Linked DNA regions of Homo sapiens: all the other regions are linked to region 3. The links are contacts of gene promoters, found by promoter capture Hi-C in blood cells and fetal thymus (Javierre and others, 2016). All regions are on one chromosome and are shown on one strand. Each heading gives the region's core, a stretch centred on a gene start or on the middle of the fragment in contact. The rest is flanking DNA. Distances are from core to core; before and after follow the strand shown.

Region 1 (4,643 bases), core at 603-3,102, 1.0 Mb before region 3:
CTTCCTCAGCTGTTTTCTTAACAGTGCCTGGGAACTTGTCTGCTGCCTCTTGGTCAGTAGAAGCTGTTTCTCCTATTATCTTGACATTTTTAAAGCCAAATCTCTTTCTGAAATTATCAAACCATTCTTTGCTGACATTAAATTCTTTCTTCACCTTTCTTTTGCTTTAAGTTGTCATATAATGAGTTTACTTAGAGTCTGTAGGTATGCCTTTCTTATAGCAATTCTGTACCCACATAAAAGCTGCATCTTGAATGTGAGATAAAAGTATTTTGCAAAAACTGCAAGATTTTTGCACCTGCTACTGTAGGTGCAGCAGTGGCTTCACAAATTTCCTTTTCTTCAATACTTTTTATGTTGGATTCATTTATCTTAAAATGGTGAGCAACTGCAGCTACACACCTCAACCTTCTATGCTTATTAAGCAATTCAACTTTTTCTTGTAATACCGTGACTTTTCTCTGCTTCTTGGAAGCACTTCCAGTATCACTAGTGGCAACTCTTATGGGTCCCGTAGTGTTAGTCAAGGTTTCAGGTATTGCTCTAAACATAGTGAAAAATGAGTTAACTGAGAGATACCACTTCTACTGTGACAGTAAATTCACTCAGGTGGTGATGATTATCCTCATGACATTTTAAGCAGATACTTGAAACAGCTGAGCTTGCTGCAATAGCAACAGGAGATAGCTATGAAATTATTATGTACGGAGTTAATTTTATGCAGTTATTCATTAGTACATCTTTACGTTTCTTTACATTTCTCTGGACTTTGGATGATACCATATATAGTCTAAGACTTTGTGTGTGTAAGTTTTGTTGAATTTTAACTTTTTATATTTGTGTATATTTTACAGTAATGTCATCAAATAGAGTGGTATCTATAGTTTATGCATTCATGACATAACTTAATTTTTCAATATTTCTAGGCTACACAGTTTGTCTGCAAGTTTTTTCAAATTGTCACAAATCTCCAAAAAATTTTCTTACATATTTTAAAAAACTGGCGTATGAATGGATCCATGCAGTTCAAAGCTTTGTTGTTCAAGGGTTAACTAACTGTAGTTATATTCACTGTGCCTGCATGTTGCTCATGCAGTGACTAGTATGATGTCTTCCTTTACCCAAGCTAGTATGGCTTTTTTCTCTTATTATTTATGTATCAAGGAACCTCCTCAAGGTTAGCTGCTATTATAAGAAACAACTGGAAATTGTCTTTGAAGTACCACACAGAAGAAACTTGGCTTGTTTCCTATCTGTTTATGATTGTTTATGCTAATGTATGGATTGTCCTTCAGTTGTCAATTTCTATTCCAGAAACCTGGCAATACTTTTGTGCACGTGTGTGTGTGTGTGTGTGTGTGTGTGTGTGTGTGTGTTTTGAGGTGAAATTCACATAACAAAAAAATAGTAAAAAATACTTGAAAGCATACAATTCAGTGACATTTGGTACATTTACAGTGTTGTACAACCATCACTTCTATCTAGTTCCAAACATTTTCATCACCACCAACAAAGGAGACCCCTGTACCCATTAAAAGCAGTTATTCCCCCTTCCCTCCTGTTCAGCTGCAACAAACATTAATCTGCTTTGTCTCTATGGATTTACCTATTCTGGATATTATATGTAATTGGAATCATACAATATGTGCAATATGTGACTTTTGTTTCTAGCATCTATCATATAGCATATTTTTAAGGTTCACATTGTAACATGTTAAGATTGCATTCCTTTTTATGGCTGGATAAAAATTTTCGTTGTATGTATATATGACATTTTGTTTATCCATTCACTGGTTAATGGATATTTGGGTTGTTTCCACAATTTGGGTATTGAGAATTGTGCTTCTATGAATATTCATATGTAATAAGTATTTCTTTGAATAGCTGTTTTCAATTTTTGGTGTATGTACCTAGAAGTGGAATTGCTGGATCATATGGTAATTCTGTGTCTAAGTTTTTCTTAACATTTTTCTTAACACTGTTTTCTTAGGTTTTCCATAACACTGTTTTCCTCATTAGCTGCCTCATTTTACATGTCCACCAGCAATAAACAATGGTTCCAATTTCTCTGCATTCTCACCAACACTTCTTATTTTCTTTTTTTATTATTTTTAGTTAGCCATTGTAGTATGTGGGAAATGGTAATCTCATGTGATTTTGATTTGCATTTCGTTAATGACTGATGTTCCGTATCTTTTCAAGTACTTTTTTGGCCTTTTGTATATCTCTGGAGAAATAATCTGTTTAGGTTCTTTGCCCATGTTTTAATTGGGTTGTTTCTCTTTTTGTTGTTAAATCCAAAGACTTTATATATTTTGGATATTAGACTTTTACCAGATATATGACTTGCAAATATATTCTCCCATTCTGTAGGGTTATCTTCACTTCTATGCATTTTTTAGTGCTAGCTCCTGTGTTTAGGTCTTTGATCCATTTTGAGTTAATTTTTATATATGGTATAAGGTAGGAATACAACGTCATTTTTTGCATGTGGATATCCATTTGTCTTAGCACCATTTCTTGAAGAGACTGTTTTCACCTACTGAATGGTCTTAGCCACCTTCTTAAAAATCAGTTGACCACAGATGTATAGATTTATATCTGGACCTTTAATTCAGTTAGTTGATTCAATTATTATTAGTTTTATGCCGGTAATACATTGTATTGATTACTGAAGCTTTATAGTAAGTGTTGAAATTGAGAAGAAAAAAGTGCGTCTTTAATTCTGTTTGTTTTCAAGATGGCTGTGACTAGTGTAGATCCCTTGCATTTTCCTGTGAACTTTAGGATTGGGTTGTCAATTTCTACCAAAAAGGAAGCTGGGGTTTTGATAAGAATTACAGTTAATCTGTGGGTTTATTTTCAGAGTATTGTCATCTTAACAATTTTTCAATATTTTATTCCTTTTTATTCTATTGTAAAGGTAATCATTTTCTTAATTTCCTTTTTGTTCATTGCTAATATACTTAAAACAATGAATGTTATATGTTGGTCATATATTCTGGCACTTTGAATAAAGGTAATAATTATTTTCTTAATTTCCTTTTTGTTCATTGCTAATATGCTTAAAACAATGAATGTTACGTGTTGGTATTATATTCTGGCCCTTCGAATTTGTATATGACCTTTAACAGTTTTCTTTTGTGAAAATTCTTTAGAATTTTCTATATGTAAGGTCTTTTCACCTGCAAATAGAGATACAGTTTTACTTCTTCCTTTTCACTTTGGGTGCCTCTTTTTTTACTTGAGTAATTACTTGGCTAGAACTTCCAGTACAGTGTTGAATGGAAGTGAAGAATGAGGGCATCCTTGTCTTGTTCCTGACCTTAGCAGGAGAGCTTTGTCTTTTACCACTGCGTATGATGTGAGCTCTGGGGTTTTTAAAGGTGTTCTTTGTCAAGTTGAGGAAGTTCAATTCTATTCCCAGTTTTTTGTGTGTTCTTATCATGAAAGTTTAATTTTGTCAGGTTCTTTTTCTTTTTTCTACATCAATTGAGATAATGGTGTGTTTTTTCCTCTCTTTATTAATGTGGGATATTACATATGTTTTTGTATATCGAACCACCCTCATAATCCTGGGACCTGTCTCAATTGATTATAGTGTTTAATCTTCTTAATATGATGCTATATTTGGTTTGCAAGGGATATTGGCTTATGGTTTTTTGTGGTGTCTTTGTCTGGCTTTGGTGTCAGAATAATGCTGTGTTTATAGGATGTGTTGGGAAGTGTTCCATCTTCTATTTTTTAAGAGAGTTTGAGGAAGACTGGAGTTAATTCTTTAAATGTGTGGTAGAATCAACCAATGAAACCATCTAGAGGCTTCTGGCCTTTTTATTGGGAGCTTTTTGTTTACTGACTCAGTTGTCTACTTGTTAAAGATATGTTCATCTTTTCCATTTCTTGTTGAATTGTTTTTGGTAATTTGTGTGTGCCTAAGAAGTTGTTGATTTCATCTATGTTATTTGTTGGCAAACAGTTGTTCATTGTGTTTTCTTATGTTTATTTCAGTGGTAGTGTCCCATTTTCATTTCTGGTTTTAGTAATTTGGGTCTTCTCTTATTAACCAAAAGTTTGTTGATTTTGTTATCTTGTCAAAGAACCAACTTATTTACTTTATTCTGCTAGCTTTGGGTTTACTCTGCTCCTTTTTTCCTAGCTCTTATGGGTATGATGTTAGGTTATTGATTCAGGCATGTGATTTTTTTTTTTTTCTATTTTAATGTAGGCATTTATATCTAGAAATTTTACTCTGAGAACTGCTTTCACTGCATCCCCTAGGTTTTGGGATATTTTGTTTTCATTTTCAGTCATCTCTAAGTATTTTGTAATTTTCCTTGTGATTTATTCTTTGATCCATTGGTTTAACAGTGTGTTAATTTTCATGTATTTGTGAGTTTTCTAGTTTTCCTTCTGATATTGATTTCTAGTTTCATTCAATTGTGGTCAGAGAGAACGTACTTTATATGACTGCAGCCATTTGAAATTTATTGAGACTTTTCAATATGTCTGTGAATTTTTTTTTTCCCCCAAGATGGAGTCTCGTTCTATCGCCCAGGCTGGAGTGCAGTGGTGTGATCTTGGCTCAATGCAACCTCCACCTCCTGGGTTCAAGCAGTTCTCCTGCCTCAGCGTCCTCGAGTAGC
Region 2 (4,193 bases), core at 334-2,833, 1.1 Mb before region 3:
AATACCTGTAGACATTGAGCTCCTGGATATTGGTAGTATACACGAGCTGCGCCTAAGATATATAAGTGACAAGAGAAGAGCAAAGAATAAATTTTTGTTATCAGAATGTTGAGGCTTAATGATACCCACAGTTAATAGATGTTTGTAGCTTTTAAAGGGGACTGACAAGTGGCATATCTATGAGCTCTTCTTTCACAAGCCAGAGGAATTACCAGCCATCCCACAAAGAAAAGCCAAATTCTAAACAGAGTAGTTGGCATGTGAACAAACACTAGCAGCCCCTCCTTGCCTAAAAACCACCCAAATAGAGAAGTTGATCCTCCTTAGATAAGAACCATAAATCAAATAAAATGGGTCAGAGCTAAGCCCCTTTAACTAAACAGGATGGTGCCTAGGAGGAGACTATAATGTTATTAAACTTGACATATGAAAAGAAATAACATGTGAATCTAAAAGATGGTTGGCTGGCAATTCATTTATTAATTGAACAAATATGTATTGAGGGCCTGTCATGTGCCAGGGCTGAGGATGTAGCAGTCAAAAAGCAAAAAAATCAAATAAAAACTGTAAGCCCTGAAGCTTACATTCTGGTGCTGTGAAACAAATAATAAAGAAATTGGTATGTAAAAGTAATATTCTGCATAGAGGATGGGAAGTGGGGAGAGACAGCAATTATAAATATACTGATCAGGGAAGGACTCACTGAGAAGAGAACGCTTGAGCAAGGACTTATATAGGAGGTGGGGAAAGAAAGCAAATATCTGGGGTCATATGATTCAGGTGGAAAGGCCAGCAGGAAAACCACCTGGAGCATCTGTGGAACCACGAGAAGGAGAGTGTGGCCTGAGCAGAGTGAACCAAGGACACAGGGACAGCAAGTAAAGGGGCCAGATCATACAGATGAGGTGGCCACATCACCAAACGTTCAGAATGGGGTATTTTTTAGAAAGAAAATGGGTTCCAAAAATAAGTCATATTGTATCATTTTTAAAATATGTGTTTATTGGCCAGGCATGGTGGCTCATGCCCGTAATCCCAGTACTTTGGGCAGCCGAGGCAGACGGGTCACGAGCTTGTATCATTTTTAAAATATGTGTTTATTGGACGGGCGTGGTGGCTCACGCCCGTAATCCCAGTACTTTGGGTGGCTGAGGCAGGCGGATCACGAGGTCAGGAGATCGAGATCATCACGGCTAACATGGTGAAACCCCATCTCTACTAAAACTATAAAAATTTAGCTGGGAGTGGTGTTGCGTGCCTGTAATCCCAGCTACTCAGGAGGCTGAGGCTTGGAGAATTGCTTGAACCCGGGAGGCAGAGATTGCAGTGAGCTGAGATCATGCCACTGCACTCCAGCCTGGGTGACAGAGCGAGACTCGGTCTCAAAAAAAAAAAAAATGTGTTTATTGACCTGAATTTGGTCTTATTATATTGGTGGACCTATAAGATAATTCTATCCAAAATTTATTTTCAAAATAAAAATTTCCTGAAATATCTTAAAGTGATAGTGATACAAAGTTATGAACATTCAAGCAACTTTAAAAAAATATTGGCCAGGCACAGTGGCTAACGCCTATCATCCCAGCACTTTGGGAGGCTGAGGCACGTGCATCATTTGAGGTCAGGAGAATTTGAGACCAGCCTGGTGTCATGTGACCAGACATGGTGAAACCCTGTCTCTACTAAAAATACAAAAAAATTTGCCAGGTATGGTGGTGGGTGCCTGTAGTCCCAGCTACTCGGGAGGCTGAGACAGGAGAATTGCTTGAACCCAGGAGGCGGAGGTTGCAGCGAGCCAAGATCATGCCACTGAACTCCAGCCTGGGCAACAGAGTGACACTCTGTCTCAACAACAACAAAAAATTGATTATCTGAACATTTTTAATGGTACAGACAATTATTCTTTATATGTATTCACATACCTTAATTGGTTATTTAGATATTATTGTCTCTAGCATTGGGATGTGGACATTTTTCAGGAACATGTGTTTTTTTTCGTTTTTTATTTAAACAGTTATTTTTTTATAAAACTGCAATCTTTTTCAAAACTTCATTTTATGGTTAATATATTTGAAATTATGGACAACTTTAATTGATGCTTCACTATATGTTTTTAACTGAGAACACATTTCCTCTCTAGATACTGATGAACCTGTAAGTTCTGCTAAATGAAGAATCTTCTCATTTTTTAGATTAAAATATGTAAATATTTCAGGCCAATATCGTCATAGGTGCTGTCTTTCTACCTTCATTCAAAGCACTTTTGCTCAATAATTTCTTACAAGATAAAACTTTCAAGTTGTCTATATCTGTGATTGTTTCAACATTTCACCAAATCTAGATACTGCAAAATCATAGACTTTCACAATTTTTCTCCATTTTGGTAGAGAATAAAAATTTATCCAAATAAAATTAGAAGTCAAAATACATCAAAGTCAAGATTTTTCTGAAGCACAATTGTCAAAATAGATAATTAAACCATATCTGCTTTCATCTTTTGATTTGTTCAACTCCTTCTTCGCTTTTGTAGGGAGAAATTTGAGCTTCTTCCTTTGCAAGCCTTATTTTACATAATTGTAACTTGCTAAAAGCTTCAAAAGCTGAATTTTCATGCTACATTCATTCAGTAATCGATTAAAAATTTCCAACTGGTCTTGAACATAATGCAATCTAAATTTGGGTTGCTTTACAAAGTGGTTTTTCAAAGGCTCAGGCATTCCCAAAATCCAATTGATGACATGCAACACAGACAGGAATATACATATAGTCATTCTGAAATGTTTCCTTGCATGGTAGTGTTCAATATCAGCTTCTGTCAGAAAAGTTTTGTAGATCAGTTACTTATAAAATCTGTGTGTGTGTGTGTGTGTGTGTATATATATATTTATAATTTATACATTTTGACAATTTTAGTTTCTGTTTTGACTGACAGAATACCGCAGCTTGTTTGAATGCAGTCACAAATTTTGTGCACATTACAACCAATTCCAAGTACATTTCTGCTTCATAGCTTGTTAACTTGGTAAGAACATTTTTAACACAATGCTGTGCTCTATTAACATTTGTATTCATATTCTTACAACAAAAACAACAGTTTACCTTCAATGTTGAGCTTTTCAACTAAATTTACAGTGGCATTAACAATGTCAGATGTTTCACTTTTTGACTAGGAAATAAATTTTCACATATTTTATTTTGATTGTTTGAATTAGATAAAAAACAAAATTGAAACATTTCAGAATTAATACATTTTTGAATTGAGACCTCTAAGGAAATTATTATAAAAAACATTATTTGAAGGTTTGCAAAGGAAAATCACTCATTAATTATTACCAGTTTACTTACAAGTACAAGAAAACTTGGAATTGAAAATGAGCAAAATTAATTTATGAGTTATTTGATACTAATGGGAAGGTGTGCTTCACAATGACATGTACATAGGCCTCCTGCAGCTGCCGTGTTGAAGTCATTTTAAGGCATATTCTTCTTAAATTATTAACTTTGGAAATAGATGCCAAAGCTGCTTCACCATATTTGTACCTTCTGGTTTTCAAAGGGATAGTGATCTTTCTACTTGCCTGCATGGTACATGGTAAATATTGAAAAATATTTTCTGCACGTTGCATATTCATTATCAGCTTTCTTGAGACAATTAAACATGTGGGTTTTGTTTTGAGCTAACTGCTGAAAGGGTTTATTGTAAAATTCAAAAGGCATTACCATATAATAAAACAAATAGAGCTTCACATATACAAATAATAACAAAACTGCTTTAATAAAACAATTAGGTTACACTATACTCTATGGCAAAATTACTTAGCCTCTATTTCCTAAACATAATTTGTATGACATTAAGCCACAATTTCTCCCATTTTCTACTGACTCTGAGGAGGTTCCACGCATCTCACAGGCCACCCACCACACGACCACATGAGGGCATGAGTGGTGGTTCACAAAGTGGCCAGCAGGGGGAAAAGCCTCAGAAATTCTTCTGCTACCACCTAAGATCAGAAGAGGTACTTGTGCTTGAGCTCTTAGCTTTAACAGGCAGCACCCTGCATATAATTCTTGAAAGGTTGCTGCTAGCTAGGTTTCATCTGAACAGAATCAAGAAAAAAGACAAGTTATCATTAGCCATCTTTTGCATTTAACCATAATTAAGTCAGAATTTGGCTGGGGACAGTGGCTCGTGC
Region 3 (4,093 bases), core at 557-3,056:
AGGAAAAGAAATATAGAGTGAGCTGCTCTTCAACATCAGTGTTTTGGGTCTCAAAGAGGATGGTCTCTGGAAAAAAATATTTCAATTGGAATGTCATTAAGCAAAATATCCCTTAAAGGAGACTTTTATACTTTTTGCATAAAATACACATAGTAAGCATGATCCATAAAATTACTTGCTATTGATAAGCAATTATCTCTGTAACTGACCGATTCATTTCACACTAACCTGAGTTTTAGGTTAGATTAGTGTGAACAGAAGTAGTTTCAAATCCCAGCTGCTCAAAAACCTTGGGAAAGTTGCCCATGCTAAGTCTGTTTTCCTCATCAGTAAGATGGGAATATTTCCCAACTCCTAGGGTTGTTGTTGGGAGTCAACAAAATACTATAATGAAATACTGTATATAAAACACCTAGACACATTGTCCAGCCCTCAGGAAATGTTTACGCCCTGTCCCCAAATCACCTATCTTAACTCCTCTATCCTTTTTAGCCCAAAAGCGTGCCATGTGATGGCCAGGTTATGAGTCACCATAAATATATATTAAACAGTCCAAAATAAACCTTGTTGAACAGAAGTAATCACACCAAAGACATGGATTCTTCTTTTAATAAAAGTTAATCCTAACTAACCAAAAAATCACAGAAATGCCAGATAAAACACTTAATCATTTCCACGGGAGGAGGTGGGGCAAGCAAAAATAAAAGCAGCACTGGGGTGCACATCTCCATTCTGGGCTGTCCAGAGGCCAAAGCACATGCAAAGTCTTGGAGAGATAAGGCAGAAAGGGGACGGAATACCGAAGCCACCCTGTGTGTGTGATGCCCTTATGTCTGAATGTGAAGGGAGCAAGGACGGGTACATCCAGAGCTACGAATAACCTTGAGTTTTGGAGACTGGGCACTGACAGCTACAACTTGGGACTTCCACTGTAAGTTCCTTGGGAGGAGTGCCTCGGGTTTGTTCTGCTGCATGTGTTCCCTTAGTACCTACACCAGTGCCTTGCTTGCAGAATTAATAATTGCACCCATGTGCTGGTGGAAATACAATGGAAGCACAGACGCTCTCCAAACGACTAATGACTGGAAAGGCCGGGAGCGAAGGGAAGATAAGGCACCAAGAGTGGGTAACCCGAGGGGAGGGGAGGTGTACGTCCAGGGGCTTTTCACTTTCGTGACAGTGGGCTCCGACCCCTGGGCTGTCAATCCGCACAGATGACGAAAAGGGGCCTGGGGCAACCCTGGCTGCGGTGCCGGCTGGCGGTAATGCCGGAGCTGGGACTGTTGGCAGATATGGGGGAGGCAAGGTGAGCGACAGCGCCCCGGAAGCAGTTACCTGTAGTAGCTCAGGAGCCCGTTGCTCAGCACGAACCATCGCCGCTGGTAGCCTTTGATATAATTGGTCCATTTGAAGAGCCAGCCCTCTCGAGCCGAGCCCGAACCCCCAGCGCCCGAGCCGCCCGAGCCCCCAGTCGGCGGCGCAGGGGCCGGGCCAGCCGCCGCCACTCCCCCGGCCCCCGGGCCCGGGCCTCCCGCCGCCGCCGCGACCACCGTCCCTGACGCGGCCCCGGAGCCTGGCCCCGCATCTCCGCGGCCGCCGCCTCCTCCCACCACTGGGGGACCGGCGCCGCCGCCGCCAAGTGCTGCAATGGCTGCCGGGCCTGGCCCCACCACTCCTCTCAGCTCCGTCGCCGCCATGAGCCGCCGCCGCCTGGAGATACAAGACCGGAACCGCCTACGAGAGCCGCCGTCGCCGCCCGGAGCGCCCCACACGGCTACCGCATCAGCCACCGCCGCGCAGCGTCCCCGCCCCGCCCGGCCAGCCGCGGGGAGGAGGGCTCGGCCGCCGGGAAGAAGGACGTCGATTGGTGCCGCTGAGTGTCACTTGAGGAAGACCCCGCGGATATTGGCATTTCTCTCGGGCCTGTCATTCTACAGCGCCCAGTGAGAGCCTGGGGTGGGACGCGTCCGCCAGACCCACCTTTGATTGGTTCAGATAAAGGCCAATCAGACTTTTGGGGAAGCTCATTGGTGCTTTCCTGAAGTTTCCAGCGCTCAGGGAGGACGGGAGAATGCGGAATGCCCGGCCAATCTGATCGCCGATTGGCTGCTGTTTCCGCCATTCATTTCAGTTTATGCGCCTGTCACTGCCACGTCACCCCCTCCCATCGCTCTTCTCATCATCCTTTTCCGCCCTCATGGATTGGTGGTTGGTATCAGCTGCTCCACCTTTTCTACCATTTACTGAACGAGTTGAGGAAAAAGGGAAGGAGTCTCGTCTTTACATCCTTATTTTCTTTTTTTATTGGTTGGCACCTATGCCACTCACGTGGTGGAGAGGCGGGGCAATAGTTGGAGATGATTGGTTCTGAGAATTGGCTGTGAAAGCGGCATTGCTGACCAGTGAGAGAGACCTAATGAGGAGCAGGCCGGGGCAACCAATGAAATCGGAGAAGAGCGCTTGGGGGCGTGTCCGCCTGCTTTCAGCCTTTGGCAAGTTGGTGGGAGGTGAAAGTGACTTGGCCTCTTAAAAGCGTTTTTTTCACGTGGGTGTGATGTCGTGTTCCGTTTTTCTGAATAAGAACTTCGTAGCTTCTTGTTAGGAAGAACCTGGAGGACAGAGTAACTCTCGGCAGTCAGCCCCCGCCTGAGGCTCTCTTGAAGGACCCCCTTCTAACTCGAAGCTGGATACCCAGATTCCAGGGGTGCCCAGAAGTAGCTTTTCCAGCCCCTTCCTGGATCCATGGTCCCCCTAGTTCCCTTCCCTGTTTGCTCTTTATCGCTCCACACCCCTTGTGTCTTGATTCTAGACTGTCATATGCCTATACCGATTCTGTCCCCTTCAGAAGTAGATTCGCGAGGACCTGACTTTATGTGTCTCTTCCAGACCTAAAGGCCCTTGGTTTTAGCATCATAGGTGCCATGTATATGCTTAACTTTGAACAGAAAATTATTATTTTTTGTATCTTTAAACTGATATATCGTAGTTGTACATATTTAACTTTGGACAGAAAATTTTTTTTATATCTTTAAACTGATATAGTTGTACATATTTTCAGGGATACATCTGATATTGTGATACATGTATTCAATGTATAATTATCAAATCAGTGTAATTGGGATATCCATCATCTCAAACATTATCTTTGTGTTGGGAACATTTTCTGCTATGCGTTCTCTTGTAGCAGGAAATCGTTATTTTTGATCAACTGACTATTCACACATTTGTGAAGATTACAAATTCAGTAACTAATGTAACATTTAGATGTAAGCTATTGTTGCAAATGTAACCTAAAGCGCCGTACTTTAGGGAATCTAGCATCTGTTACATTTTGCTAGTTTGAACAGGCAATAGAAATAGCTATTAGATACTGTAAAAGAAATTGACTTTCTTTGCCAATGTGCTTCCCAGTGTCAATAAATTAAAGTATCCTTTTTAAGAAAATCGTTTCAAAAGAAGCGAAGTATTTATTGAATTCTGGAGAGAGAATACTCTTTAAAAATCTGCAATTTTTACTATCAGGGATCATTTGTATAGCTCATTACTAGTGAATTTCTCTGAATGTGTAGAGCAAAATAAAATCTGCTATTAGATGTAGGCTATTTGGGATTAATTTTTTTTTTAACTGAGCTAGAGTTAATCCATTTAGGCTTGAGTCCTGCTTTTGCTACTTACTGGGTCTATTACTTTGAGAAAATTATTTAAGCACTCCAAGTCTCAGTTTTCACTTATGTTAAACAGGAATAAAACCTCACAGGGATGCTGTTGTGATTAAGTGCGTTTGAATGTGTTTGATAAACTGTAGATAGCTACAAACATGTGAGTTGTGTTGCCAAACACATCTCACAGGTTACTTGCCATCACAAAGGAGAAACATACTTTTACAATGGGGAGATCTGGCAGTCCCCACCTTAACCCAGTTATCCAATGTGTATCAGTAACCCTTGGACAACCAACATTTTTATGAAGTTCCCAGTGTGCTGCAGCATAAAGTATACAGCATCACTTAATGGTGTTTTCTTGCCAAAATACTGAAAGTTAATCTAATCAAGGCTTTGGATCTAAACTCCAGTTTACTGGGCTGGAGGAACCA

What was found. Contacts are between HindIII fragments. The CHiCAGO score rates a contact against its expected background, and 5 or more counts as called.
Region 1: a fragment that was not itself captured here is called in contact with the fragment with the promoter of OSBP in region 3 in 1 of 17 cell types (naive CD8 T cells); the score reaches 5.3 in naive CD8 T cells.
Region 2: a fragment that was not itself captured here is called in contact with the fragment with the promoter of OSBP in region 3 in 1 of 17 cell types (neutrophils); the score reaches 5.8 in neutrophils.

The regions. Positions count from the first base shown.
Region 1 is chr11:58,597,412-58,602,054 of GRCh38, forward strand. The region is part of intron 2 of ZFP91 (ZFP91 zinc finger protein, atypical E3 ubiquitin ligase); the gene reads left to right. The region is part of intron 2 of ZFP91-CNTF (ZFP91-CNTF readthrough (NMD candidate)); the gene reads left to right. Among named protein-coding and RNA genes, the nearest start is that of ZFP91-CNTF, 21 kb to the left of the region's middle. The HindIII fragment of the contact is 1,645 bases long and covers 1,031-2,675 here.
Region 2 is chr11:58,564,150-58,568,342 of GRCh38, forward strand. It overlaps LPXN (leupaxin), which reads right to left. Exons shown (of 9, transcript NM_004811.3): 3 at 6-52. Among named protein-coding and RNA genes, the nearest start is that of LPXN, 9.6 kb to the right of the region's middle. The HindIII fragment of the contact is 2,012 bases long and covers 578-2,589 here.
Region 3 is chr11:59,613,968-59,618,060 of GRCh38, forward strand. It overlaps OSBP (oxysterol binding protein), which reads right to left and starts at 1,807. Exons shown (of 14, transcript NM_002556.3): 1 at 1,336-1,807. The coding sequence starts at 1,697. It overlaps LOC101927226 (a long non-coding RNA gene), which reads left to right and starts at 1,987. Exons shown (of 3, transcript XR_001748237.2): 1 at 1,987-2,208. RefSeq lists silencers at 1,440-1,659, 1,680-1,979 and an enhancer at 2,180-2,269. The HindIII fragment of the contact is 16,614 bases long and covers 1-4,093 here.